Linked DNA regions of Homo sapiens: all the other regions are linked to region 1. The links are contacts of gene promoters, found by promoter capture Hi-C in blood cells and fetal thymus (Javierre and others, 2016). All regions are on one chromosome and are shown on one strand. Each heading gives the region's core, a stretch centred on a gene start or on the middle of the fragment in contact. The rest is flanking DNA. Distances are from core to core; before and after follow the strand shown. Region 1 holds the start of ESF1 (ESF1 nucleolar pre-rRNA processing protein). Region 2 holds the start of RALGAPA2 (Ral GTPase activating protein catalytic subunit alpha 2). Region 3 overlaps CFAP61 (cilia and flagella associated protein 61). Region 4 overlaps TMX4 (thioredoxin related transmembrane protein 4).

The links. Contacts are between HindIII fragments. The CHiCAGO score rates a contact against its expected background, and 5 or more counts as called.
Region 2: the fragment with the promoter of RALGAPA2 here is called in contact with the fragment with the promoter of ESF1 in region 1 in 1 of 17 cell types (naive CD8 T cells); the score reaches 6.2 in naive CD8 T cells.
Region 3: a fragment that was not itself captured here is called in contact with the fragment with the promoter of ESF1 in region 1 in 1 of 17 cell types (naive CD8 T cells); the score reaches 5.9 in naive CD8 T cells.
Region 4: a contact is called between a fragment that was not itself captured here and the fragment with the promoter of ESF1 in region 1, in 1 of 17 cell types (naive CD8 T cells). The highest score is 5.7, in naive CD8 T cells.

Annotation. Positions count from the first base shown.
Region 1 is chr20:13,779,288-13,786,194 of GRCh38, reverse strand. ESF1 (ESF1 nucleolar pre-rRNA processing protein) reads left to right here and starts at 1,276. Exons shown (of 14, transcript NM_001276380.2): 1 at 1,276-1,315; 2 at 3,012-3,691. The coding sequence starts at 3,055. NDUFAF5 (NADH:ubiquinone oxidoreductase complex assembly factor 5) reads right to left here and starts at 1,167. Exons shown (of 11, transcript NM_024120.5): 1 at 905-1,167. The coding sequence starts at 1,126. RefSeq lists enhancers at 257-946, 942-1,231. The HindIII fragment of the contact is 9,427 bases long and covers 1-6,907 here.
Region 2 is chr20:20,708,333-20,715,239 of GRCh38, reverse strand. It overlaps RALGAPA2 (Ral GTPase activating protein catalytic subunit alpha 2), which reads left to right and starts at 2,596. Exons shown (of 40, transcript NM_020343.4): 1 at 2,596-2,865. The coding sequence starts at 2,760. RefSeq lists enhancers at 2,136-2,335, 2,160-2,454 and a silencer at 2,446-2,705. The HindIII fragment of the contact is 11,955 bases long and covers 674-6,907 here.
Region 3 is chr20:20,058,481-20,065,387 of GRCh38, reverse strand. The region is part of intron 2 of CFAP61 (cilia and flagella associated protein 61); the gene reads right to left. Among named protein-coding and RNA genes, the nearest start is that of CFAP61, 9.4 kb to the right of the region's middle. The HindIII fragment of the contact is 6,753 bases long and covers 550-6,907 here.
Region 4 is chr20:8,011,922-8,018,828 of GRCh38, reverse strand. All of the region lies in intron 1 of TMX4 (thioredoxin related transmembrane protein 4), which reads left to right. Among named protein-coding and RNA genes, the nearest start is that of TMX4, 4.4 kb to the left of the region's middle. The HindIII fragment of the contact is 801 bases long and covers 2,233-3,033 here.

The sequences.
Region 1 (6,907 bases), core at 27-2,526:
TTGCATTATACTTGACTCCAACTTTGTTCCACTCCTGAATAAAAATTTACTGAGGCCTGAACTTGAGAATGCGTGTCCTGAAAGTAGAAACCCTCAGTCTCTGGCTCACCTGGGCAGGGAGAAAGGTTTCTCAAACGAGCCAAGACAAATCAGAAATCTTAATTTGATCTTCCTAAAACATAAGTCAGATCACTCCACTGATTAAAACAAGAGCTTCACATTCCCCTAGAGCAGTGCTGACCAAAAATCATGAGAGCCACATATGTAATTTCAAATTTTCTAGTAGCCACATAAGAAAAAAAGTAAAAACGAGAGAAATTTTAATTGAAAAATTTAAATTTATATTTAATATATTTCATGTGACCCAATATATCAAAAATAATCACTGCAACATGTAATCAATATAAAAGCTCTTAATGAGCTATTTTACATCCTTTTTTCATACTAAGTCACTATACTCGTGTGTATTTTACAACACATCTCAATTGGACTAGTCACCTTTCAAGTGTTCAACAGCCACATGTGTGGCCGGCAGTTACCATACTGGCTGGACAGTGCAGATACAGAAGAAAACCCCAAGTCCCTATCCTGCAAGGCCCTGATGATTTGGGTCCTCCTAACCTTCTCTCCCACTCTCTCCCTCTCCGGAGCTTCACTGGAGGCCTCTATAAGGTCCTTTCAGCCTCAAGGACGTTGCCGAAATGAATGCATGAATGAATGAAAGCATGTTACAAATATCCGAGGCCAGGCCTTGCGTGATTACAGTAGAGGCCGAAAGAGGCAGGGCTGCTGGTCAAGGTCAGACGGCTAGGTGGGGTGAGCTCGGGGCCTAGCCGGAACTAGCGGAGAGGAAAACAAGCCTCCGCGTCGCCCGCCCCGCCGCCCCGCCGCCCCGCGGGCTCACCTCCTCCTTCAGGTAGTCAAATTTGGTCGGCTCGGGCTGCCGGGCTGCCCAGTTCTTCTGTTTCCTTTTCAAATCCCGGTCGAAAATATTCAGGGTTCTGGGCGAGGTGCTACCGCGGGGAGAGACACCAGAGGTGACTTCCCTACGGCCAAGATTCTCCGCTGGGACCCTCGCCGCCCAAGGTCGCCGACATAAGCGCCAGAGCCCTGCCGGCCGCAGCATCTCCAGCTGCGACCCCAATTGCCGGCGCTTTTTGTGCGCATGCGCCAGCGCGGCTTTTGTGTCTACTCCAAAGATCTTCTCGAGGGAACGTGCAAGTAGTTTGGCCTAGTTCGCTTGCCATTACGGCGGAGCGTCACGCGGAGGATTGTGGGTGTGAGCCCCACGTGAGGCTTGGTAGGACTGCGGACGGTGAGTGGGGATGGACTGGAGTTGAAGAGCTCGAGATGAAGGGCTTGAGGGCGTGTGTGTGTGTGGCGCGGGGAAAAAACTAGTCTCTAACAGGATCTCTTTCGGATCTGCGAGGGGTTTTGCCCCTTCCTCCTGAGCCTTTTTCGGTCTCATTCTTCAGTCTTCATCGATCCTTTTCAGGGTCGCTTCTCGAATCAGTCTGTTAGCTGCCCCCCTGCGGTACAGGAGGTGGAAAGGAGACCCTAGTTCAGGGGCCAGCCCTGTGTTCTCCGAATTAGAGAGCGGGCAGAAGGGGAGGGTGGGCTACGGGGATGCGGGCGCGTGTCGGGAGTGAGGTCCGGTCGCCTTCCCCTCTCTCGGATTATCTGACATATAATGAGTGCTTTCCTTCTAAACATTTACAATACATGCAGTACTTCTCCTGGTTGAGGTGGTACCTACCTCGTAAGATTGCTCAGAGAGTTAAGTGCTGTAATACATCGAAAAATGTGTAAATGCACCAGCGATAGCTTCCTTTTTTTTCCTAGTTAGTGTAATTAAAAGGACTTGATTTTTAAATAAGAAATATTGCCCTTTTAATCATTTTGGGGGGGGGTTGCTTAATAATCAACGACTTTTGGCTCTTTGCAAAATTCCCATCCAGAGATGCTAAACCATTGGAGACTTTTCACAAGGGAACAATATTAATTTATACACACATATGTATATGTTCTAGTATGTTTTGGGGGAATGAGCTCACTTGGGCCTTCATCACTGGTAGAATCAGATATTATAGAAAGAAGTGATATTTATTAACTGGTGTGAGACTTTACCTGGAGACTCAAATTTACTTTTTATTTTTAAACTTTTTATTACTTTTGAAGGATGATCGAATTTAAAAAGGAAACTTTCTTAGCTAAACCTGAGTTGATTTTGGTCTGTTTAGTTAGAATGCTAGTCTTACAGAACTAAAGGCTGTTTGTTGGCAGTAGCCGGAGATAAGGAGTAAGCAGAATGAGACCAGAATGTGAAGAAACAAATGAGGCCAACGGAGGCTAGGGAATCTTTCTTTCTTACTTTTTTTTGGTAGACAGGGTCTCACTCTGTTGCCCCAGCTGGTGTGCTGTAGTGCCGTTAGGCTCACTCTAGCCAAGACCTCCCGGGTGGAAGTGATCCTCTTGCCTTAGCCTCCAAAGTAGCTGGGACTACAGGCGCGCGCCACCATGCCGGGCTCATTTTTGTATTTCTTGTGGGGATTCACCATGTTACCCAGGCTGGTCCTGAACTCCTGGGCTCAAGTGATCCGCCCGCCTTGGCCTCCGAAAGTGCTGGTGAGCCACCGCACTCGGCCTAGGGAATCTTAACTACATTTGCCTTCAATTAGTAACACATACTGGTATACAAATAGAAATTCTAAGTGAGAGCAATGGATGAATAAACATTTGTTCCCCTCCATAAAGCCCTGGGATTCTGCTTTGTCTACCTTAAGTTTATTTCTCTAAATGATCTGTCATGGAAAGAGGATATTTTGGTATGTTTCTGCTTTTTTGCATGTGACCCAGAATACGTTGGAGAGATGAAATTAGACTTGTTACCTCTATTTTATGTACACTTAACTTAGAATATATTAACTTAGAATATATTGTGAATGTGTTTTAAAACATTTAATTATTGTACTAACCATTATTACCATTAAAACATTTGTTTTATTTTTCAGTATTTGTTTTCTTCAAGCATTTGGTCGAGATTAAGAATTAAAAATGTCATCCAAACAAGAAATAATGAGTGACCAGCGGTTTAGACGGGTTGCAAAGGACCCGAGATTTTGGGAAATGCCAGAAAAGGATCGAAAAGTCAAAATTGACAAGAGATTTCGAGCCATGTTTCATGACAAGAAGTTCAAGTTGAACTATGCCGTGGATAAAAGAGGGCGCCCCATTAGCCATAGCACTACAGAGGATTTGAAGCGTTTTTACGACCTTTCAGATTCTGATTCCAATCTCTCTGGTGAAGATAGCAAAGCATTGAGTCAAAAGAAAATAAAGAAGAAAAAAACCCAGACTAAAAAAGAAATCGATTCAAAAAATCTAGTTGAGAAAAAGAAAGAAACCAAGAAGGCTAATCACAAGGGTTCTGAAAATAAAACTGATTTAGATAATTCTATAGGAATTAAAAAAATGAAAACCTCATGTAAATTTAAGATAGATTCAAACATAAGTCCGAAGAAGGATAGCAAAGAATTTACACAAAAAAATAAGAAAGAGAAAAAAAACATTGTTCAACATACTACAGACTCTTCTCTCGAAGAAAAACAAAGGACATTAGACTCAGGCACCTCTGAAATTGTGAAATCTCCCAGAATCGAGTGTTCTAAGACAAGAAGAGAAATGCAATCAGGTAGGTTGGAAAAAATTAGAGATTCTTGGGTGTTACATTATTTATTTTTATACTGATCTTTCAAAAATGTAAACACATTAATAAGTATTTTCATAGTATTATGGAATGGTCAAATGCTTATCTGGAAATACAAAGCTATAAAAGAAATATGCAGTGATTATTAATTTTTGATGTGGTGCTAGAAGACAGACATGAAAATTTGAATCTTGAAGTTAAACAGTGATTTTGATTAGTGGTGAGCCCTAATGAGAACTATATTCTCTAACCAGATAAAGTGTTATATGTCATCACATGATAAGAAGAGATGTGTCTAAAGAGGGTAAGTAGGCCGGACATGGTGGCTCACGCCTGTAATCCCAGCACTTTGGCAGGCCAAGGCGGGCAGATCACTTGAGGTCAGGAGTTCAAGACCAGCCTGGCCAACATGGTGAAACCCCATCTCTACTAAAAATAAAAAAAAATAGCCAGGCATGGTGGCGCACACCTGTAGTCCCAGCTATTCGGGAGGCTGAGGCAGGAGAATTGCTTGAACCTGGGAGGTGGAGGTTGCAATAAGCTGAGATTGCACCACTGCACTCCAGACTGGCTGACAGAGCGAGACTCTGTCTCAAAAGTAAAATAAAATAAATAGGGTAAGTAGGACTCCGTCTCAAAAATAAAATAAGAGGGTAAGTAGAGTTGAGTACTCATTCATTAATTTGTTCAGTTGCTTTGCCACTAGTATGTGGCAGGCAGAATATGAGTAAGGCGTCGTCACCCATCTCAGGGCTGTCGCTAGCTTATATGATGCCTTTATGCAAATTAGAAAAAGGCATGCTCTCTGGACACACAGAGCTCCCAGGGGTCACACTTTGGTGAAGAGATGGCGCCTTTGAAGCAACAGATTTTTTGCCCCTGAGCAGACACAGCCCCCTCCAGAGTGCATGGCTTGGTGAGTGTAGGATGGCCTTGATTTTAGCCCTTCTTGTCCTTTTATAAATGCCCCTGTGCGGATAACAGCCTGCTAAACTTTGTGCAGTGGCCCCTGTCTAAAGCAACATTGTCTAGTAGAAATACATAATTTTGGATTTTCTAGTAACCACATTAAAAAGTAAGATGAAACAGGTAAAATTATTTTAAATAATATATTTTATGTAACCCAATATATCAAAATTATTTCAATATGTAATCAATATAAAAGTCAATGTATATTTTACATCCCATTTTCTACTCATTTCATACTAATACTATTTTCATATTAATGTCAAGTTAGACAAAACGCATTTCAAGTGCTCCGTTACCACATGTGACTACTGGCTACCATATTGGACAATATAGATCTAAAGTAGAAGAAAGTCAGAACCATAATACAAAATGCAATAATAGTAAGTGCCGTAAAAGATGTTTAGCAGAAAGCCATGGAAATCTGGAGGAAGAAGTCACTCAAGATGTGGTAATCAGAAAAATTCATAGGGGACGCACTACTTTGGGGTGTGGAAAAATTTAAGTTTGAGGACCAGAGTGTGCTACATGGAAAGAACTTTTTGAGCAAAGATGTGATTGGGCATGTTCAGAAGAGGTCAGTAGTCCCGTTTGATTAGATAATAAGGTCTTGAAGGGCCAAAATGAGTAGCAGCGAGAAATGATTGTTTGGAACTAGGTGAGAGACAGCTGGCTCTAGTTTGCATTACGTGTTTACTAATTAAAATTTTTTGTCACCTCCAGCAGCAAGCAATTTTGAGTGTTGATGTTGCTGATAGTTGAAGATGTAACTGAAAACCAGTAGTAGTTCACATGAGCCAGACCTGTGATTACAGGATCCAAGGAGGGGTCTTGATAGGCCGAGAGGTCTTGATAGGCCAAGAGGTCTTGATAGCCCAAGAGTTCTTGATAGGCCAAGAGGTTTTGATAGGCCAAGAGGTCTTGATAAGCAGAGATCACACTGTGAGGGTAGAAGGTATCAGGCAGTGGAGTGAATTCTGGATAGCAAGGACTAGGGAGTCAGTGGTGGTATCCCATTTTACATTTGTAGTGGAACCAGGCAGCAGACCTCTTGAGGTGTGGGAAGAAAGGATAGGAATCCGGTTACTAAAATTGAAGAATAAGATTGGAGTGGGACCGGCAGCAAAGTTGATTTGACACTGAATTAGTGAGGTAAGTTAGTCTAGCATCCACTTCATTTGGGGCACTGAATTAATATAACATAGCTATATAATCCTTTAGATTGATTTTACAGACTTTTTTACATATCTTTTCTCATTTAATTTTCTTAGTTACCTTGAGCAATAAGACTGTATCAGCGAACAAGATTAAAGTGACTTATGTAAGGACATGCAGACCTGGAACTGCAACTCAAGTCTTCTGACTCCTTCTACCCCACCACATTGCTTGCAGTAATTTTGTTGGTTCCACAGTCTAGGAAAGGCATTACTCATAAATAAGGATTACACGGCTCCATATATAATCTTCTGTTCATTATCCATTCATCAGTTATTACAGCAATTACTGTGTGCAAGGGCCTTTTTAAGTGCTGTGAAGTAAAGGTGATGTGAGGACTTGCAGTGTGATATTTGTCATCATGAAATGTTCATGCCCAGCACTTGCACTCCTCAGAATCTATTTTACATAAATAATTGGATGTGTGCAAAGAATGTGCATTGCAGCATTATTTTTAAAATAAAACGGTAACTGGCTGGGCACAGTGGCTCACCTTTATAATCCCAGCACTTTGGGAGACCGAGGCGGGTGGATTGCTTGAGGTCAGGAGTTTGAGACCAGCCTAGCCAACATGGCAAAACCCGGTCTCTACTAAAAATACAAAAATTAGCTGGGCATAGTGGTGCACACCTGTAATCCCAGCTACTTGGGAGGCTGAGGCACGAGAATCACTTGAACCCAGGAGGTAGAGGTTGCAGTGAGCCAAGATCGTGCCACTGCACTCCAGCCTGGGCAACAGAGCAAGACCTTGTCTCAAAAAATGAAAATAGAAATTAAAATGGTAACAAATCATTAAGAGATTAATTAAATATATGCAAACATCTGTGATCTATGAAGTTTTAAAAATAGGTTCCAAAATAACGATATGACCAGTTATTTTAAACAAATTAGTATTTAAATTAAAGAAAAGAAATTTAGGGATATGGTTGTATACTAAAATAACCAGTTATCTTTGAATGAAAAATTACTGCTAGTCACCTTTGTTTTATTTATTAACCATATTTTCCTAACTTTTTTTGG
Region 2 (6,907 bases), core at 1,347-3,846, 6.9 Mb before region 1:
GATAGCTCCACTGCACTCCAGCCTGGGTGACAGAGCCAGACTTCATCTCAAAAAAAAAAAAAAAAAAAAGAAAAAGAAAAAAGAAAAAAAGAAATTGAAATTCTGGGTCAAAAGGCAAATATTTATTTTTGCCAAATTTCCTTCCATAAGAGTTGTAGCATCTAACATTTCTACCAGCTATGTTTTCTATAGCTCTGCCACCAGACTAGAGTGTGTTATCACACCTTGTCTCTGTAGAGGTTTTTTGTTTGCTTGTTTTTTCTAATTCAAATGATATTTCAGAGTAGTTTTAATTTGCATTGCAAGTTTTAAACTTTTGATCTCATTATTCTTATTTGCTGATTACTGTAGGACATTTATTCAACAACACTTAATGTCTGCATAACACTCGGCACTCTATAACTCCAGGGATAAAGAATTCAGTGCAAAGCAAGTGAAGCCCTCAAAGAGTTCACAGCCCAGCAGGAACGAGTTTAGAAAGAACAACAGAAAATAAGAAGAGCCATATGGAATATGCAAGTGGGTGAAAAAGTACCAACATAATAATACTATATGTTTCTTCCTTTTTAAGAGAAGAATTGGAGTTCTACATTTTCATTACTGGGTAAAGGCTAGATATGATGGGTGCGATGAATTTATATGCACAGATGCCTGTTTCTGGCATTACCAAGCTTGATAGTATCACATGTTCACTGTACACTGTCATTTATTCCCACATGTATCTAATCGCTCAGCCTCCTTAACTGGATTGGAAGCATTGGAGGTCAGGAGGATGCACCTTATACATCTTTTATCTCCAGGGTTTAGAATCATGCCTTACACATTGCAGGTGCTCAATAAATGTTTGATGATGATGGCAGCTTGCTTTGCAATTAAAAAAATGGAGTTTCCTAAGACAAGTATATTCTATTTTTTCAATCAGTGTAAGGAAAAGTATCTTCTCCTAAAGGAATTGGACAGTGAACATTGTGGTTTACTATGTGTAATCAGGTACAAGCTCAATTGCTGTAACGAAGACTCTCAAAATGCCTTGACTTAAGATAAGACATTATTTTGCTCTCTTGTTACACTTTTAGAAGTTTGTGGTCCTGATCTGTTATCATCTGGGGACTCAGGCTGGTAGGGCCGCTCTGCCATCATCTTGAGCATGGGGCTTTCATCTCCGGGTCTGAGAGTGATCCATGTTATTGGGTTTATCAGTAGTCTGTTCTTTTTTATTGCTGAGTAATATTCCTTTGTATGAATGTGTCTATACAAAGGAATATTACACAAATCTAAAAATAGAGAGACGCTCTAAAACTGTGAGTTTATTTATTTATTTTTTCCTTTTCGCCTGCCTGGTTGAAATATGTAGGACTACTTTAGCTTTTTATTGTATTTCATTTAATAAACTTTTATTGAGTGACCCTATGGGCCAAATACTGTGCTGAGGGATGGGGATACAAAGGCGTGTAAATCCTTGTCTCTTCCCTCAAGTTACAGTTCAGCTAGAGGAGAAAAAGACAGTTGTGTTGTCCCAATTTGGATGGAAACCACGTGATTCTACCTTAAGTACTTGCTGAAAAAGCTGAAAGGATGTCAAAACTTGCAGGATTCGGATGCCACTATACAATCCTACAGTGTAAGAAATCTCCTGACCATCTTTCAGCTCAAAGTCTTGCCCCAGGGAATAAGCGCCTGGCTTTAAAAAGTATACAGGCCTGAGTCAGATCCCTCAGGTTCTATTTCTGGTTCTGCTACTGGATCGCCATGTGGCTTGCACAACAGAGAACGCACCCTTCCTACAAAGAGGCAAGATCCCAAGGAGCCCTCTGAGCGAGCGACCTCCATACCCCAAGTGAGGTTGGGTTCCAGGAACCTAGGGGCCGGCTGAACTCCTCACCGGGGCACGCTCTTCCCTAGTGCCAAAGCAACTCATTTTAGTGTGAAATTAGAGCTGCGATTTCGGCACGGTCAGAGGGGCTTCGACTCGCTCCCTTGTGTGAATCCAGAAGCTAAACCTAAAAATAGTTTGCATTTGAAAAGCCTTGACACTTTTCTTACTGAGATTTTTGGGCGTGTGTGGTTCACGTTGCACTAGAGGAAAATGGGGTGGGCGCGCAGGAGGGAGAGTGAAACCACGGGCGATCTAGGCTGCCGGGGCAGGGGACGGACAGAGGCCGCCCTGCGCTTCTGCGACCCTGGAAAAGAGGTCGCAGCGCGTCGCCTGCTGGAGAACTTCATTTCCCAGGAGCACTTGCGGCCCGCGGCAGGGCGGGGCGACGTGCCCAATGCCGGCCCACTGACTCCCATCGTGCCGAAGACCGCCAGCCTGATTGGAGGACTGTCTCGCGGTGCATCTCGGGACTTGTAGTACAACGTGTGCGTGAGAGAAGCTCCTTTGTGATTCGAGGCGCCTTCTCGGCCCTCTGAGCGCGTCCCCGCTAGGTTTTGGCGCGGACGGGCTAGTGTCCCGCCAGGAGAGTTCGGCCTGTGTGCGCGTGCGTAGCGCCCAAGGGGCCGGCCGGCACCTCCCGCGGGGCGGGGCCTTCGGTTCCCCGTCGACACCGCCTTCCTGCCCCGCCCCTCGCCGTGACCGGCCCGCCCCTCCTTCCTGGAGACACAGCTGAGGCGGCGGCGGCGGCGGCGGCGGCGGCAGCAGCGGGGCTGGGGGCGGCGAGTGGCCCGCGCGACACGCGCCGGCCTCGACCCTATGCTTTGATTCGCGTGGCGCAGGCGCCTACTGCCCCGCCGGCGGGGCCCGGGCTTCCTGCCGCGGGATGTTCTCCCGAAGGAGCCACGGGGATGTGAAGAAGTCCACCCAGAAGGTGCTGGACCCGAAGAAGGACGTGCTGACCCGCCTGAAGCACCTGCGGGCGCTGCTGGGTGAGGCGCGCGCCGGGCGCGGGGGTCGGGGCGCCGGGTTAGGGGCACCTGCCGGGAGGGCGCTCCTCTGTGCAGGGGTCGGTGGCTGGGAGGCTGGGGAGGGGGATGGGTGGGCGTCCGACCCCCTTCCCTGGATCTGGGCTTGGACCCCCGGGGCTTTGTTTCCAGAAAGCCGCAGCCTGGCCCTCGGGCACTGCTCCCGTCGCCCTCGAGTTAAACTTAGCCCAGATTCTCGCTGGGCGCCTGCGCTCCCGGAGAACCTGGAGGCCGGGCACAGAGGTACCTGTCCCCTGTCCTCCCAGCAAGTGAACTGGATCCCAAGTGGTCATCACGTGCACACATTGAACTGTCACCTCCCCCTTTCATTTTTAAAATTTTATTTTTGAGTCTGAGACCCTAAGTAGACCGAGACCCCAAGTGAACCCAGCACAGACCTAATTGGGCTCTCATCTCTGTCATCCCCCTTTTAAATTTTATTTTTACTTTTGAGTGTGAGACCCCCATATAGACCGAGATTCCAGGCGATCCCAGCACAGATTTGTCATCTGTCTTCCCATGCTGCTTTTTAAATTTAATTTTTATTTTGGGTCTGGCTGCTTCAGTTTCTTTGTGTCCTTGGTGTGAAGGGGCCTTCTCTTCCTGCTTGGAGAGAGGGGTGGTTTTCTTGGGTTCAGGGAGGCTGCTTCTCCTTTATTACCGGCATGACAGTGATGCTGTCTGCCACCTTCTGGTTTATGGCCTGCCAGGTGGAGGTTCTGAGGAGCTCAGGTGGGCTTGGAGTTGACCTGTGATGAAGCTCGCCCCTGTGGGTGTGAGGTGTCCACAAGGCTTCCTGTCACCTGCTGCATGTGATCTGTAGCTGGTTCGCCTAGGCTATGTTTTGTTTTCTGTATTTTTTTACATCCTAAGTCTTAACTTTTCTTTGGGATGAAAACACCTTTGCTATCTATAGACACACTTACCTGTGTATTTGGTGGCGAAGGAAAGAACACCTTATGTTTCTTCCAGGTGTCTTTTAGTCCCAAAATTCACAAAAATCGCCTAGTGCTAATGTGTCTGTCACTTGAAAGAATATTGCATAAAATGATTTAACGTGTGAAGATTTTAAATAAAGATCTTGTTCATGAGATCAGAAGTTGCTGATTATTTCTATTTATATTCTACCTCTGAGGGGGAGAAGAACCCAAGCCAAACCAAACCACACCTGATTTTGCCAAGTGAAGTTATTCACAATCTCACATACCTTGAGGTTACACTGACTTGTTCAGTTTGAAATGAAATGTAAATTAGTTGCTGTTACAGGGATTCGTTTTCAAGACTTTTGAGAGTGAAGTGTGGAGAGTGAAGTGTGGCGTTCTTGGTAAACTGAATTTTCTACTTCCTGTAGATACCATGCACGCACAGGTTGCACAATACACAGGTTGCATTGTGTGGAGTTCCTGGTAGTGACTGATTAACACCTACTGCAGGGACATTTTTGATAAAGGAGAGTTGAGCTGTGTTTTAAAGCGTTTGATACTTTGAGCCTTTTTCTGTGCTTTAGCGTTTAAATTTTTGTTCTGTCCAGGTCTGCAAGATTAAGTTGGCTACATTTTATAAAGGCAGAATCAAGTAAACCTAGATCAGGTTATTTCTTAGCACACAGTACATTGTTCCCATTCTGAGAAAGTTGATTCTTTTCAAGTTTGTAAAATTGTAGTTTCACTCTAAGGTGTAGGTCTTATTTTAGGGAACTTTCTTTTATCATTTCACTGAACTCATCATGACCTCAGTTTTGTAACATGGAGAGGTTCTTTTATATTTCCTTAGGTGTATGTTTTTTGTTGATATACTTACTAGTGGAGTGGCCCAGTTTGCTTTGTTTATTACTGTGATCTTTGTAGGGACTAGATTTTTGTAAAATGTGTCTGAGGAATTCTAGTCATAATATTTAATGTAAACTTTCACTTGCTCCTGTGATTTATTAAAGACTTAAAAAGTAGTACGTAATGCACTAGTTCCTACCTAATCACATATTCTATTTCATTGCTACTCGAAAAAAAGTCTACTTAGAAAACAAAGGCCTCTTGAACTGAAAGTTAGGAATTAAGCCAAGATTAAGGAAACTATTTGAAGGAAATGAATAGTAATTACTATTGTATTTTTATGTGTGTATTTATATAACACTTTTGCTTTTCATATATTTTATCTTCAAGTGATAATAAAGTTTTTTTTTAAGTATGCAAAGATTATGCCACTTACTTGGGTATTTGCAGCCTGTCCCTGCCGCCTGCAGCTTCATGACTTGAGCTAGTTACGTAGCCTGTCTCTGAACCTCGGTTTCTTTGCTCTGTAAAATGGGTATGGTAATGTTTGCTTTTTAAAGGATTATTGTGAGTATGATGAATAAATGACTTCAGCTTGAAGTAGGCCTTTAACAGTTTCTTTCCCATTACATATCTCCCACCATTAATAGGATAGGACCAGTATTTTGATAGGTAATTTTTCTCCGTCTTTCTTATTTTTGATAATAGTGATGAATTTGTTCTCTTTTCCTAAAAAGTAGTCTGTATTTAAAACAACTGGGTGAGAAACATAAAATTAGCTGTGGAAGTAGAGTATTTCTTAGTATCATGGTAATAACTCCAATTTGGATGTAGATACTTTCACCTGGCTATAGACTGGTCTGGTATGATTAACTTTATTTTACAGAGGGGTAAGCTGAGGCACAGGCAGGCTTGACACGTATCAAGCCATGTAGCAGACGGTTTACTTATGTTAGAGGAAGAACGAAGAGCTGTTAGGTCCTGTGACTTCCAGTTCTTCCTACACTGTTGACAAAACAAAAACCAAAAAACCCTGTGTATTACCATATTGCTCCAGCAAAGATTCCATGTCTTTTTTTTAACAGGATCTTTGCTCTGTTGTCCACGTTGGAGTACAGTAGTTTGACCTTGCCTCAACTGCTGCAGCCTTGGCCTCCCTGGCTCGAGTAATCTCCCACCTCAGCCCCTGGAGTAGCTGGGGCTACAGGCATGTACCACCACACTAGGCTCATTTTTGTATTTTTTTTTTTTGAGATGGAGTCTCACTCTGTTACCCACGCTGGAGTGCAGTGGTGCCGTCTTGGCTCACTGCAACCTCCGCCTCCTGGGCTCAAGCAATTCTCATGCCTCAGCCTCCTGAGTGGCTGGGATTACAGGTGTGTACCACCATGCCTGGCTAATTTTTGTATTTTTAGTAGAGACAGGGGTTCACCGTGTTGGCCAGGCTGGTCTTGAACTCCTGGCTTCAGGTGATCTGCCCGACTCGGCCTCCCAAAGAGCTGGGATTACAGGTGTGAGCCACCATGTCCGGCCAGATTTTTGTATTTTTTGTAGAAGACGGGGTTTTGCCATGTTGCCCAGGCTGGTCTTGAGCTCACAGACTCAAACGATCCTCCCACTTCAGCCTCCCAAAGTGCTGGGCTTACAGGCATAAGCCACCATGCCTGGCCAGATTCTAATTAAAAGTTGAGTGCTTACTATGAGTCCTAAATTAGGATATAGAACTGGCATTGATGTAGTGAGAAGAATAGATACAAAATAATAGTAAATTTATGGTGTGTTATGTAATTAGATGGTCAGGTATATGGTAGAATCCATTATAGGATTTCAGAGAACAAAAGAGATAATTAAGAATGTCATAAAAATAGGGGCATCTTTAAGGAGATTTGTAGTAGTCTGTTCTCACTCTGCTAATAAAGACATACCTGAGACTGGGTAATTTATAAAGGAAGGAGGTTTAATTGACTCACAGTTCCACATGCCTCGGGAGGCCTCACAATCATGGCAGAAGGTGAATGAGAAGCAAAGTCATGTCTTACATGGTGGCAGGCAAGAGAGCTTGTGCAGGGGAAATCCCATTTATAAAACCATCAGATCTTGTGAGATTCATTCACTACCATGAGAACAGTATGGGGGAAGCCACCCTCATGATTCAATTATCTCCACCCGGCCCTTGACATATGGGGATTATTACAATTCCAGGTGAGATTTGGATGGGGACACAGCCAAATCATATC
Region 3 (6,907 bases), core at 2,677-5,176, 6.3 Mb before region 1:
TAAATGTTTGGGGTCTGAGCAAGGGGAAGGCTGGAATTACTGAGATAGGAAAAGTGTGGGAAGAGTGGATTGAATGCAGGTGAAGATCATGCTAGGTTCCAAGTGCCTACTAGGTATCCAAGGGTTGGCATTCACCAGGAAGCTGGATAAATGAATTTGGAATCCAGAAGGTTCTGTCATCGATGTCAGATGTTTTTCACATTTATACCATAAATTCACCCAGAATTAATTTTTACAAGTTTTCTACTACATGAGGTTGGTTATTATTTTCTTTCCCATGTGAATAACGAACACTCCCAGCACCATTTATTGAGTGGCACATCCTTTCCTCACAAAGCCGTCATCAAATTTTCATATAGTATGCGTCTGTTTCTGGGATCTCTATCCTGGTCCATCTGTCTTTTGTCAAAATTCCCTGCAAATTACCACACTGCCCTGATTATTATACCTACAATGAACCTTTAGTTGGCAAGCCTCTCCACCTTATTTTTCTTCCTTCAGATTACCCTGAACCTTTGCTTTCCCACACAAATTTAGACTCATTAAGCTTGACAAATAATCTTGTTAGGATTTTGACGGGGGTGGAGAGAAACTAACTTTATGATTTGAATCTTCCTGTCCAAAATGTGGTCTACCTCTTGGGAAATACCGTAGTCCCCCCACTTCTCCGTGGTTTCATGGCCCACAGTTTCATAGTTAATTGCAGTCAACAGCAGTTAGAAAATACTAAATGGAAAATTCCAGAAATAAACAATCTATAAATTTATAATTGCATGCCATTCTGAGTAGCAAGATGAAATTACGTGCCATCCCAGCCCGTCCTGCCCAGGAACTGTCCAGCAGATCCACACTGTAGATGCTGCTGCCCATGAGTCACTTAGTATTAGATCTGGTAACTGCCTTCTGTTACCAGATCGACTGTCACTGCATCACAGTGCTTTGGTTCAAAGTGCAAGAGTAGTGACGCTGGTAATTCAGACATGCTGAAAAGAAGCCGTAAAAGGCTTCCTTTACACAAAAAGGTGAAAATTCTCAACTTAATGAGGAAAAAATAAATTGTATGCTGAGCTTGCTAAGATCTAGGGTAAGAAGAAATCTTTAATCCGTGAAATTGTGAAAATGGAAAAAGAAATTCCTGTTAGTTCTCCTGTCGCACTTCAAACTACAAAAGTTATGGTCACAGTGCATAGCAAATGCTTAGTTACGATGGAAAAGCCGTTACATTTGTGGGTGGAAGGCATGAACAAAAATGTGTTCTGACTGATAACAATCGGATGTGGTACCATCCTCAGTTTCAGACATCCACTGGGGGTCTTGGAATATATTCCCCTCAGATAAGGCGGGGTGGGGGGCGGTTACTCTATTTAGGCTTTCCTTAATGTCTTTCAATAGTTGACAATTTACCCCATAATGAGCTTAGAGTTATTTTGTCAGTTTTATACTAGGTACTTTATATTCTTTGGCATGGGTGTAAATAGAAAAATGTTTTCTGTTCATTGTTAGTATATAAAAATGCAATGGGTTTTTATTCAATGACTTCATAGCCAGCAATTTTGAACTTCTATATTCATTCTAATTCACATTCCTTTCCATTTGCTAAGTAGAGAATATATTACCTGCAAAAAATGACAATTTCGTTTCTTCCTTTCAAATCCTAGTACATTTTATTGCTTTTTCTTTCCCTTACTGCAATAGCTAGGATCTCATGACAACAGGCATCCTCATTTACTATACAGGGATTCTTTTAATATTTTATCATTACATATGGTGTTTGTTAAAGGTTTGTATACATATGAGAGTCATCTTATATTCTTATTAGGTTAAGAATTATTACTAAGAATATTGCATTTTATCGAATGATTTTGTCTCTGTTTATTGAGATTATTAGATTTTCTCCTTTGTTAATTTGATGAATTAGACTAATCAATTTTCTAGTATTAAGCCAATCATGAATACCATGATCAGTTAATCATAATCATATCTTTTTAGTTCATCATTAGATTCCTTTCCAATTTTTTTTTGAATTTTTACATCCATGTTCATGAGCAAGGCATGAACATTAATTTCATTTCTCTTTCTATGTGAGATTGGCCGTTAACTTTCCTTTCTTGTACTGTCTTTGTCTTATTTTGATATCAACATTATGCTAGCCTCATAAAGTGAGCTAAAAAGTATTCTCCATCTTTCTGCTTCCAAGAACTTGTATTTATTTGGGACATACCCAATCCCTGAATCTTTGGTAGGACTGCTTATAAAGGCACTTGTGCCGACCATTTTATTGGCGGGAGGATTTAAAACTAACGATTCAATTTAATGGGTTTCTATCATTTCTTAAGTTGATTTTAAGAAACTTTTCTGGGACCCCATATTTTCAAATTTATTGGCATGCAGTTTTTTTATACAGGTCCCCAATCCCTTTAAATCCATAAAGCCCTAAAAACTGGAAGCAGCAAAATTGGACTTGAAGTGACAGGAGGTTACTCTACAGTCTTGATCCCATATATAAAATATTCTTACATTTTTACCACAGATATCCTAACGTGTGTAATTATGGAAAATCTCTCCAGCCCTTGTGGGTGGAATTCAATAATATTTCATCAATGGAAGAAACTAATTTTTTAAATTCTGCTTTCTGAAACACAACTAGTCACGAGGGATTTAGTTAAAGGATTGTGGATCTATAATGCCCTTTTATTACCTGCTTAACCTCAGCAACATTTGTGATTATGTCCTTTTCACATTACTTTGAAAGTTTTTCTTTTTTTCCTGATTAATCTTGTCAGATTTTTTTTTTCTTTAGGCTTTTTAAAGAACAAACTTTTGGCTTTGTTTATCCTCTACCAGATGCTTGTTTCCTGTTTCATTAATATGCGCTCTTGTCCTTTATTTTCTGTTTTCCTTGAGTTGATTCGACTGTTCTTGCTCTTAGAGGTAAACTCTGAACTTTATTTCAGGCCTTTCTTCTCTTCTGTTATAAGCATTTAAGGTTATAAGTTCCCTCTAAGACCTGCTATTTTGTTCAACTATTTCTGCATAACAGATTATCCCAAATTTAGTGGCTACTCTGTTTTATTTGCTCATGATTCTATGGGTGAGAGATTCAGACAGGGTACAGTAGGGGTATCTGTTGGGGCAAGAACCTCCAAGACGGTTTTTTTCCCTCATGTGTCTTGTGCCTCAGTGAGGGTGGCCCAAAGGGGCTGGGGTGTGCCTGGAAGAGTGACATGGGGCCTTCCTTCTTGCTGGAGGCTGGGCTCCTCAATTCTCCTCCATGTAGGCACACACTTCTCTCTTACGATATGGCCTCTCTGGGTGGTATGTCCAGTAGAGTAGCCAGACTTTTTACATGGTAGTGCAAGGCTCCCAAGATCACAAAACTGAAAGCTCCCAGCAAAGGCTCGAACTAGGGTGAGGCCAGAGGGACCCAGGGTTCAAAAATGGAAGGAGGTGTTCACTCTCAGGTTCATGCAGGGGCCCTAGCTGGGAGTGAGTACCCAGGATACCCTGCGTGCCTCTCCTGGGCCAGCCCTGCTGCCAGGCCATCTTAACGCTTGGGCCTGGGACCAGGACAGCCCCACTTCCATTACATTCTGTCAGGGGAATCACAGGCTCAACAAAGATAGAAAACATGGGGACTACAGCAGGGAGAATGGCACAAAAAGGCATGGGGAACACAGGGAGGCGGGAGAGTCTCCAGTGCTCTACCTGTGATTTTCACTTTTATCTATTTTAGAACTGTGTTGTTAGAAGCATATAAGTTTAAAGCTGTCATAGCTCTCCCAACAACAGTTTTATCATTATATAGTGACCCTCTTTATCTGTAGGGAGCTTTTTGTCCTGAACTATACACTGTCTGCTGTTGATATAGCAATACTAGCCCTTATTTTGGGTGAGATTTTGGGTGGCATATCTTTTTTCCTGATACTTTGACTTTAAATATTTCTGTGACTTTATATATGAGGTATGTCTCACAAATAGAATATGACTGTTTTGTTTTGAGCCAATCTGCCATTCTTAATCTTTTAATGGAAGATTTTTGTCCAGATGCATTTATTATGATTGCTGATATAGTAAAATTTATTTTCTTATTCTGTAATTTTAATACATTCTATGCTTTTTGTTTCTTTTTTCCTCCTCCTGTCTTGTCCTCTTTTAGATTCAGGGTTCATTTTAAATTTCTCATTCCATTTTTCCCTCTATAGATCAGAAGTTATCATCTCTACACCTGTTCTTTTAATGATGATCTTAACCATGTTAATATATATTCCTAACAGTCTTTATTATCTGTTCCAGTTATCAACTGATGTGTAATAAACCACCCCAAACCTCAGTGGCTTTAAGTAGCAATTATTATCTCTCATGGTTCTGTGGGCTGCCTGGGTTGAACTAAGCAGTTTTTGCACGGTATCTCAGGCTATCAAATGGCAGCAGTGGCTAAAGCCATCTGAAGACTCAGTGTCTAAGACGGCTTACTTGCATGGTTGGCAGCTGGTGGCAGTTGCTAGCGGGGAGCTCAGCAGAGGCTGTCAAATGAAGCACCCACAGGGAAACATGTGACTGGAGCTTTCATCAGTGTGGCACTGGGTTCTGAGAAGGAGCACTTCCGGAGACCCAGTGGAAGTTGCAAGACTTCTTATGACTTAGACTTGAAGTCAAATAGAGTCTCACTTCTGCTGCTTTCCATTGGCTGCATAAGGCGAGCCATGATTCTTTGTGAGAACAGACTACACAAAGGCGTAAGTGACAGGATGTGTGGCTCATTGGAGCCAGGGGAGCCTGTTTGCACACCACTTACCACACCCTCCATCTTAAATAAAACCTGAAGGATTCTTTCATTCTAATCATGCTCCTCCCAATTTATATAATGTTTTTGTCCTGAATCTTAGTTTTAACATATGGTTTATACCTCACAAATCAGTCATTATCAATATTATTGTTTTATGCAAGTCATACTTTTTCTTAGATTTACCTATATATTTTCCATATTTTTGTTGACATTCCTTCTTGTGTTTTGAGCTTTCCAGCTGAGGTATTCTCTGTTCCTCCAAAAACATATTCTGAGGAATTTCCTCCATTCAGAGTTTATTGGCAAATGACTTAGGTTTTTGTTTGTCAGAAAATGCATTTATTTTCTCCCAGGTCCCCTAGGAATTGTTTCACTGGGTGAAACAATGTCACAATTCTAAATTGATGTTATTTTTCTCTCCACTATTGAAGATATTCTACTATCTTCTGACTACTATTGTGGCTCCTAAGAAATCTATTAGTCTAATCTTTAGTTCTTTGCAGGTAACTTGGTTTTTTTTTTTTCCCCCTCTGTTATTTTTCAGATCTTTTTAACTGGAGTGTTTTGCTGTTTCATTATGATGGGTACAGTTGGGATTTCTCTGTGTATTTATCCCCTTTGGGATCCACTGAGTTTTCCAGATGTAAGAAGTAGTGCTTTCCAACAATTCTGAAAAACTCTCAGCCATTCTCTCTTCAAATATTACCCTTTGGCTTCCTATTATCTTCTTCTAAAAGTCTAACTAGACTAGGTCTCATGCTTCATTCATATTTTTTCTCTTTGTGTTGAGCTCTGGGTAATTTACTGGTATTGATCCTCCAGCTCATTACTTCTGTCTTCAACTGTGTCTATGAAGGATGTTTAATTCATCTACAGAGCTTTTAATTTCAATTACATTTTAAGTTCTAGATGGTCTATTTCACTTTTGTTTAAACATGATTATTCATTTTTATAATTTTTTATTTTTTATTTTATTTTATTTTTTAGATGGAGTCTCACTGTGTCACCCAGGCTGGAGCGCAGTGGTGCGATCTCGGCTCACTGCAACCTCCACCTCCCAGGTTCAAGCGATTCTCCTGCCTCAGCCTCCTGAGTAGCTGGGACTACATGTGTGTGCCACCACTCCTGGCTAATTTTTTGTATTTTTGGTAGAGATGGGGTTTTGCCATATAGGCCAGGTTGGTCTCAAACTCCTGACCTCGGATGATCTGCCCACCTCAGCATCCCAGATTTTTTTAGTCTTTAATCCTTTTTTTTTTTTTTTTTTTTTTTTTTGAGACAGAGTCTCTCTGTCACCAGGCTGGAGTGTGCAGTAGTGCAATCTTGGCTCATTGCAACCTCCGCCTCCTGGGTTCAAGCGATTCTCCTGCCTCAGCCTCCCGAGTAGTGGGACTACAGAGTGCGCGCTACCACATTCAGTCAATTTTTGTATTTTTAGTAGAGATGGGGTTTCACCTGTTGGCCAGGATGGTCTTAATCTCTTGACCTCGTGATCCTCCTGCCTCGGCCTCCCAAAGTGCTGGGATTACAGGCATGAGCCACTGTGTCCGGCCTTCTTTAATCATCTTTTTAAACCTACCTTTTTTATTTTAGACATAGTAAACATAGTTATTTTATATTCATTGTTTAATTTTATATCTGAAGTCTTTGGGAGTTGATTATCCTATATAATTTCTCTTGTTGATTCTAATGATACATGTTTCCTTGTGTGTTTACGATTTTTGACTGTGAGCTCATATACCTTGCAACTTTATCTGGGGTTATTATTTGGAGTCTGAGCTGAAGCTGCATCCCTTCACACTTGATTTGCATTTATGTCAGCCAGTTTCCTGGACACACTACTGGCCTGTGACTATTTTTAATTAAATTCTTTACTTCAACATTTTTTGGACCACATAAATAATTAACATGGATCTCAAATCAGTGTGTGCTTATGAATTCTCAGAAGAGACTTTATCCCCCTCTATTCCATGCTAAGGCTGAGTGAGCCCTCACTGTCCATTTTTATTTAGTGGGTTTATATCTTGTTCATCCCTACAATGAACATCCCAATTTTATACAAAGGGGTCACATGCTTTCCTCCTTAGGTGGAGGGAGTAGTTATCTTCCATTCTTTGCAAA
Region 4 (6,907 bases), core at 1,384-3,883, 5.8 Mb after region 1:
TCAAATAAATGTTGATACTTATTATAACTTGTAAAGGTAGGACTTTCTGAGTAATATTAATAATTGTGCCATAAAGAAAAGAAGATACGCATTGCCCCTTTTAACAATAGAAAGCAAATGGTGGATAGTGCCTTTTCTTTAAGGAGATGGGAAACTACAGTTTTGAGTTAGGAGAAAGAAAGGGATTTGTTGATTATAGTTTAACCTTATAATAGGAAGTGACCATTTGAAAGAGGCTTGCAGTGGATGGTGGGCAGATGTCTGAGCGGGCTTGAGAGACCATCATGGTGGGCTTGCAGACTCTCTCTCTCTCTCTCTCTCTCTCTCTCTCTCTCTCTCTCTCTCTCCCCCTCCCTCCCTCCCTCCCTCCCTCCCTCCCCCTCTCTCTCTCTCTCCTCTCTCTCTTCTCTCTCTCTCTCTCTCCCTCCCTCCCTCCCTCTCTCTCTCTCTCCTCTCTCTCCTCTCTCTCTCTCTCTCTCCCTCCTCTCTCTCTCTCTCTCTCTCTGTCTCTCTCTCCCCTCCCACAACTCCTTTCCACCCTACCTGCCCCCCTCCCGCCCCCACCCCCCAAACATAAAATCTTTCAGGAAATTGCCACATCTCTTTAGCCTGTGGTTTCTGGCAATCTGTATACTACTATTGAATCTTTGTTTTACGTTGAGGACACAGACAGAAAATTGGATCTTTCCTTTATCCAAGACCAAGTTTTGATTCTTTCAATTTAAATTGCAAGCAGGTGCCTATGGAGTGAAAACCTCAGTGTGAGATCAGAGCCAAAATTTATGTCACACAGCAGATTACATTGCTCGAAGAACATAAGGCATATCACCCCTTCAAATGTGCATTTACCTCTTAGTCACAAAGAAGGGGATATTTTAGACCTCCAAATGAAATACCCTTGGTATCATAATAAATCAATGAAATTATTAAAGGGAACTGTAGACATGAATTATTAAAATATTCCACTTAACTATTTTTGGAAGAAGGTGAGGGGGTCATATTCTATTTGAGAAACTTTTAAAATAAGTGGAGCTGTGTTAAGACTTCCATGTTTGTAATAATTTTAAGAGTTTGGGATAAACTGCATTTTGTCAGCCAATACTACAGAAAGTTCTCTTTTCAGTAGGTGCTTACAAAATGGACTTTTTCCTAGATGTCATCTTTCAGGGTAAAACTGAGTTTGCATATGTATGTAAGAAAAGTTAAAACAGAAAGGCCTCCTCATTTTTAATGACTTCAACTCCTCTATGGTTCCTTTTGGAATTGCTTTTTTTTTGGTAATAGAATTAAGAACACTAAAGCCTCAATAAGTTTTTGAGGGAGAGCCAACAACATCTGTGCTTGGCCATGTTGATGGTTCAAATTTTACTTTTTTATGAATGTATAAACCTAAACATAGTAATCAATTGCTCTGAGTTTGTCATGTGTCCAGTTGTATGGAATATGCTTGGCCTGTGATGCCAGATGAGTCTTGTAATCTGGAAGTAAGCTGTGTAGACACAAGGTCATTTTAGTAGACATTCTCTTTTTATCGAGTGCACTTCAGAATAGGTGGCTAGGAAGCAAGGCTGTCAATGAAAATTGATCCAAACCATTCCATCCAACTTCTTTATACGCACTAAAACCCAAGTGCTCATCCTGAAGAAATATTTTGGTTCTTATCTATTTGTGATCTATTTTTTTCTGTATTATCAGGTGATACTCCTCCTCCTTGCTGTGAAAAAAACTCCAGTACTTAAAAAAATATAAAATTCATTATATCCTCCATACCACTAGAGGCCTGCTATGAATTTCTAAGAATTCATTTAAATAGCCTATACGTTACCAGATTTTTTTTTTTATGTATATAACAGAGAAAAACAAAATGCATTAAAATTAGCTTCATCTTGACACTTAGTTCAGATGAGCTGGTCATACATAAATGGAAATTGTTAGTAGTTCAAAGATGTTGTAGTTAACTTCTTTAAAGAAACAGATTGAGAAGCTTTTGTTGTAGTTAACTTCTTTAAAGACACAGATTGAGAAGCTTTCCGATATCAAAATGTATTCATTACTTTGAATGAGAGTTCTTTATTTGTTCATTTGCTTATATGCGCTCTTTCATCTGGGAATTTTTTCTTTTATACGCCACGTCATACAGATCCCCTCTAATGCAGTTTCTGGTTATATTGGTATAGATAATTTATTCTTAAGAATCTAGCAGTATTTGGCAGCCCTGAGACATGAAAAGCTTCTATTATGAAATTAAATTTGGTTATTTTTTCTTAGTCTTTCAAACAGTCAATTTTTTGGATTCTTGCAATTGAATTTCCAGTGTTTTAAAAATGTATGAGTTAAAAGTATATTTGCAGTAATTCACCGTTTCTATTCTGATGATTTTAGAAATCTGAAAAGTTCTCCCATTGCTACATACATTTTCTTTAATGCTATGGGCTTATTGTTGTTATTATTATTTTTTAGATGGAGTCTCACTTTGTCGCCCAGGCTGGAGCGCAGTGGTGCGATTTCAGCTCAGTGTACCCTCTGCCTCCCGGGCTCAAGCAATTCTCCTGCCTCAGCCTCCCAAGTAGCTGGGAATACAGGCACCCGGCTATGGGCTTATTGTATACTCGTTTGCCCTTTTTCTGAATTAGGAAAAATGATCTAATCTTTAAACTACTGTATGATGCATGCTTTTCTCTATTGCCATTGTTTTATACTATTCTTCATTCAGTTCCTTTGCAACCTTTTGCTACTTTCAACATTTGCTTGGCTCTCATTATGTCAGTCCTGGAGAAAATGACTTTTGTTCTTTTGAAACATGGAAGTATGTAATATGATACATTCTGGTGGCTTTTTCCCCCAGAAGAAATAGATAGCCAAGTGGCTTAATTTTGACATTCAAGCTGATACTCAGAAGAAAAGTATGTCTTTGGGTTAGTTTACCTCTGTAAAGCATATAAATCTTTATAAATTATTGCCTTTTCTTATTTTTGTTTTTGGAATGATCATGTTTCAAAATTTAAATTAAACACCTGGTGATGGAGCAAAGCTTTGTTTATTTCCATAGGACATCTAGGTTTTAGTATTATCTTTCCAGCCTTCCTTTATACCTGGAGAGAATGTGTTGAACATCATTACCTTAACTTGCCCATGTCAAGTTAGAATTTCTTGCAGTTTAATAGATTGTCTTGATGTCTTGATGGAATGTTTGAGAGACAACTCACTAAATGCTTGTGTGTCAGGTTCAGTGTTGGGGAGCTGGGAAGGTGAAGAAGAATGAGCCTTCCAAGAGATTGTGCTCTGAAGGAAATATGTAGTATAAGTTATGTTCATTTATTTAGTAAATGTTTAATGAATGCTTCCTCTGTGTTGGACATTCATCAGTGCTTCCCAACAGGACACTATTGGCATTTTGGGTGGACAGTTCTTTGGTGTGTGGGAATGGCCCACGTGTTGCAGAACCTTTGGCATACTTGCCCATTATATTCTAGTAGTAGTCTCAGTCATGCGACATCAAAAAATTGTAACTCCCATTCCCTGTGCATACTTCCAAATGCTTCTAATTGAAAACCACTGCTCTAGATACTGTTATGGGTATTTAAAAACATGCGAATGTTTGATTTTAGATGGTTTCCACAAAGGGTTTAAAGCCTCATTAAAACTTGTCATCCTTACCACTTCCATCCACCTCCTCCACTTCCTCATCATCACAATCACAGTTCATAGTTACATGGCTTACATCACATGTTCCAACTAACTGTTTTATTTGATCATTCCAGCAATCTAGTGCGGTATTATTCCCATTCTTACTGACTAGTGGAGATAAAAAAAAAAAAAAGAAAAAAAGAAGCTGGCTAATGCCAGATCCTTAGTAAGTGGGGAGCAAGGCCATAACTATAATGCAGGCCTGAGCTTTGCAGTTTCTGATCTGCAGTTCCCAGTTCTCCTGGGGAGCCTGGAGGAAGGCACAGGGCCTGGTTGACTCTTGCTTTGGCCCTCAGCTAGCCAGCACCCTGACTCACATGAGGGTAGGCCTTGTTCGTGCTGGATTCTAAGGCCCATCCAAGCTTTTACCATCTCTCTAGTTTCTGCAAGTAAAGAACATTTTTACTGTATACTCATTCCTGACACTGTTCACCACTTAAACAGGTGCCCTGCCTTCCCATCATCGCAATGCCCCAGGAAAATTCTTTCTCACTATGCTTTGGTTGTGTCTTGCATGGTCCTATCACAACCAGTAATTACACATTTATTGATATGCTTTTGTACTAGGTCTTTCTTTGACTACCTCTATTATAAGCTTTTAAGTAAAGGAACAAGGTTATTTTTTTCCTTCCCTGTTTATCTCCAAAGCTTTAATAACTAACAAGTAGTTTGTGTTCAAAAAATACTTTGTGACTAGGTAAATGAGTGAATAATAGATTAATTGCTCTTTTATCAGGCACTTCTTCAAGCATATCACTGAAGGAGACATCTTTATATATTTTCTGAAGTCTTAAGGATAATTACTATCATCTCCCATTTGTTCACTGATGGAATATTTATTGTGGTGGCCTAGGACCTTCCAGGTTCTGTTCTGTGGTGCAAGTCATGCAGCAGTCACTGCTTTCGTGGAGTGTTAATTCTAGTGAAAGTCATGAATTCCACTTTCTCTAGCAGGTGTCATGATTTTCATAGAGCTGCCAGTTTTTATGTTTCCTCTACCTTTTGTGATAACACGTTCTAGAAATTATTGTCCAAAGAAATAAATTTGAGCATAAGGCTTTCAATTCATGGGTCATTCCACATTTGCCAAAAGGAAGAATAACACTTGATGTAGTTAAGGCATCTTTTGTTGACACTTTGATTTAGTTTCCTTTATTAAGTCATAGAAAGATGAACCTAGTATACCTCTTTCCTCTTCATTGTTGCTGAGTATTCTGAGCATTTTGATCAAAGTTCTACTAAGTGAAAATTGACTGGATCTGTTATTGACTGTCTCATTTCTGCAAAGATAAGAAAAAGTCAGGAGAAAAGAGAGTGTACTGAGAAACACTGGTGAAATTAGAGTCAAGACAGAAGAAGAGTTGTTCATTATTGGTAAATAAAAATTTATCGTTAATAAAATTTCCTTTCTAGGAAATAAATATAAGTAAGTCCTTCTCTGAAATATTTAGCACACCTAATGAAATCTTAAACCAAATTCAGTAAGTTCATGGAATAAAAGATTCAAGGTCCTTCAACCTCGTTCCATCAACAAAACACGGACAACATGGACAACAAAAACATTCTGTTGAACAAAAAACGTGGACAACAAAAACATGCTGTTGAATTTTGTTTCCCAGAAATGGTTAAAAACATTGCACTGACATGTAAGTTGGTGTAATTTACCAGAGCTTTTTGGCTATCTGGAATATATTTCAAATATGTTTATGAAGTTTACTAATTTTACATACCACTGTGACCTGCAAACAAGTCAACAAAAGTTCAGTAGAAAAGATAACAATTTACAGTTTAAATGACTATAATGGAGCTAATTGCTCTTGGAGGCTCTTAAGGATTATGTGTAAGAGACAAAGTTATGGCAGGTCATATCTTTTATAGTTCTTAGGAGAAGATTGCCAGTGTGAACTAGTTTGAAATAAATTTAATGAAGATCATGTTCAATTATTTCTGATGTGTTTAATTTATGCATATATACATAAATTATATATATATGTATCTATGTGTACACAGAGTGAGAGAGGAGCATGAAGGTCACATGACTGATCCTTGCATTCATTTTGTCCCTGGAGATATTTTACTTAGTTTCTAAATTCTTATACAAATTACTGTTCTTTAGATACAAAAGAATATTAAAAACTTTAAAAACTGCAGCAACAATGGACCAGTTCCCATGCTAAAGACTCAGAGCTGGCTTATCTCTACCACTGAAAGAACATCTGGGTGCATTCCAACACAAATCAGCTGTGATTAAATCTGTGAAATAATGGCATTAACAATGCCACAGACCAGTGTATAGCAGCTATGTAGAAATGGCATATCTAAAATTACCTCAGTGGCATATCCGAGGATGCATTATAATTGTATATCTGAAGGTCAGTTTCACCAAAAACCAACTTAGTAATAGCCTATCTAGAGATTAAGTCCTGTATTTTTTAAATTATGAAACATAATTACTGATGCAGCAAATGTGCCTGTGATTTATATGCAAAGAGCGTCCTAGGGAAATAAAGAGGATCTGAAGTTCATTATATTATATTATACTTCAAGATAACTTCCTTATTCTTGTTACTTTCTTATAACTTCTTTCTCCCTCTGAATGTTGAAGTTTTATATTCCTTGACGATTTTTATCAAAGAAATACCTCCATCTGTGTTCTTGCTCTGAGTGGTCTTAAGCACATCTCTATACCTGCTTTGTCTGTTTGGCAGTGAGGCTGTAAGGTCAGATGAGCTAATGCATCGTAAAAGTGTCTTGAACCCCAAGCAGTATTACAAATGAAATTTGTATTAATGGTTGCTCCTATTAAATAAATATGTGCCTGCTTCGTATTTCATCTGATCTCTCAGTAACCTAAGGTAGCTACTGTTATTATCCCATTTTACAGTTGAGGAAACTGAGGCATGGAGAGATTATTAACCTGCCCAGAATATCATGATTAATTCCTGGTTGATCTTTCTGATTGTTATAGCAGAACTCTTATCCAACATCATGGAACGCTTGTTGAAATGTACTTGATAATTCAGAATTCCTTTTTTTCCTAAAGTTTGCCAACTGCCTGAGTCTCATCTGTTAACTTGGATATTTAGAAACTACATAGAAAATAACTTATTTTCTCAGATGAAGAATATGATTTTCATTAAAGTTGATACACTTGTTTATTCAGCAAACATTTATTGAACACCTACTGTATATCAAGAATGTACTTTGCCTTGGAAATACA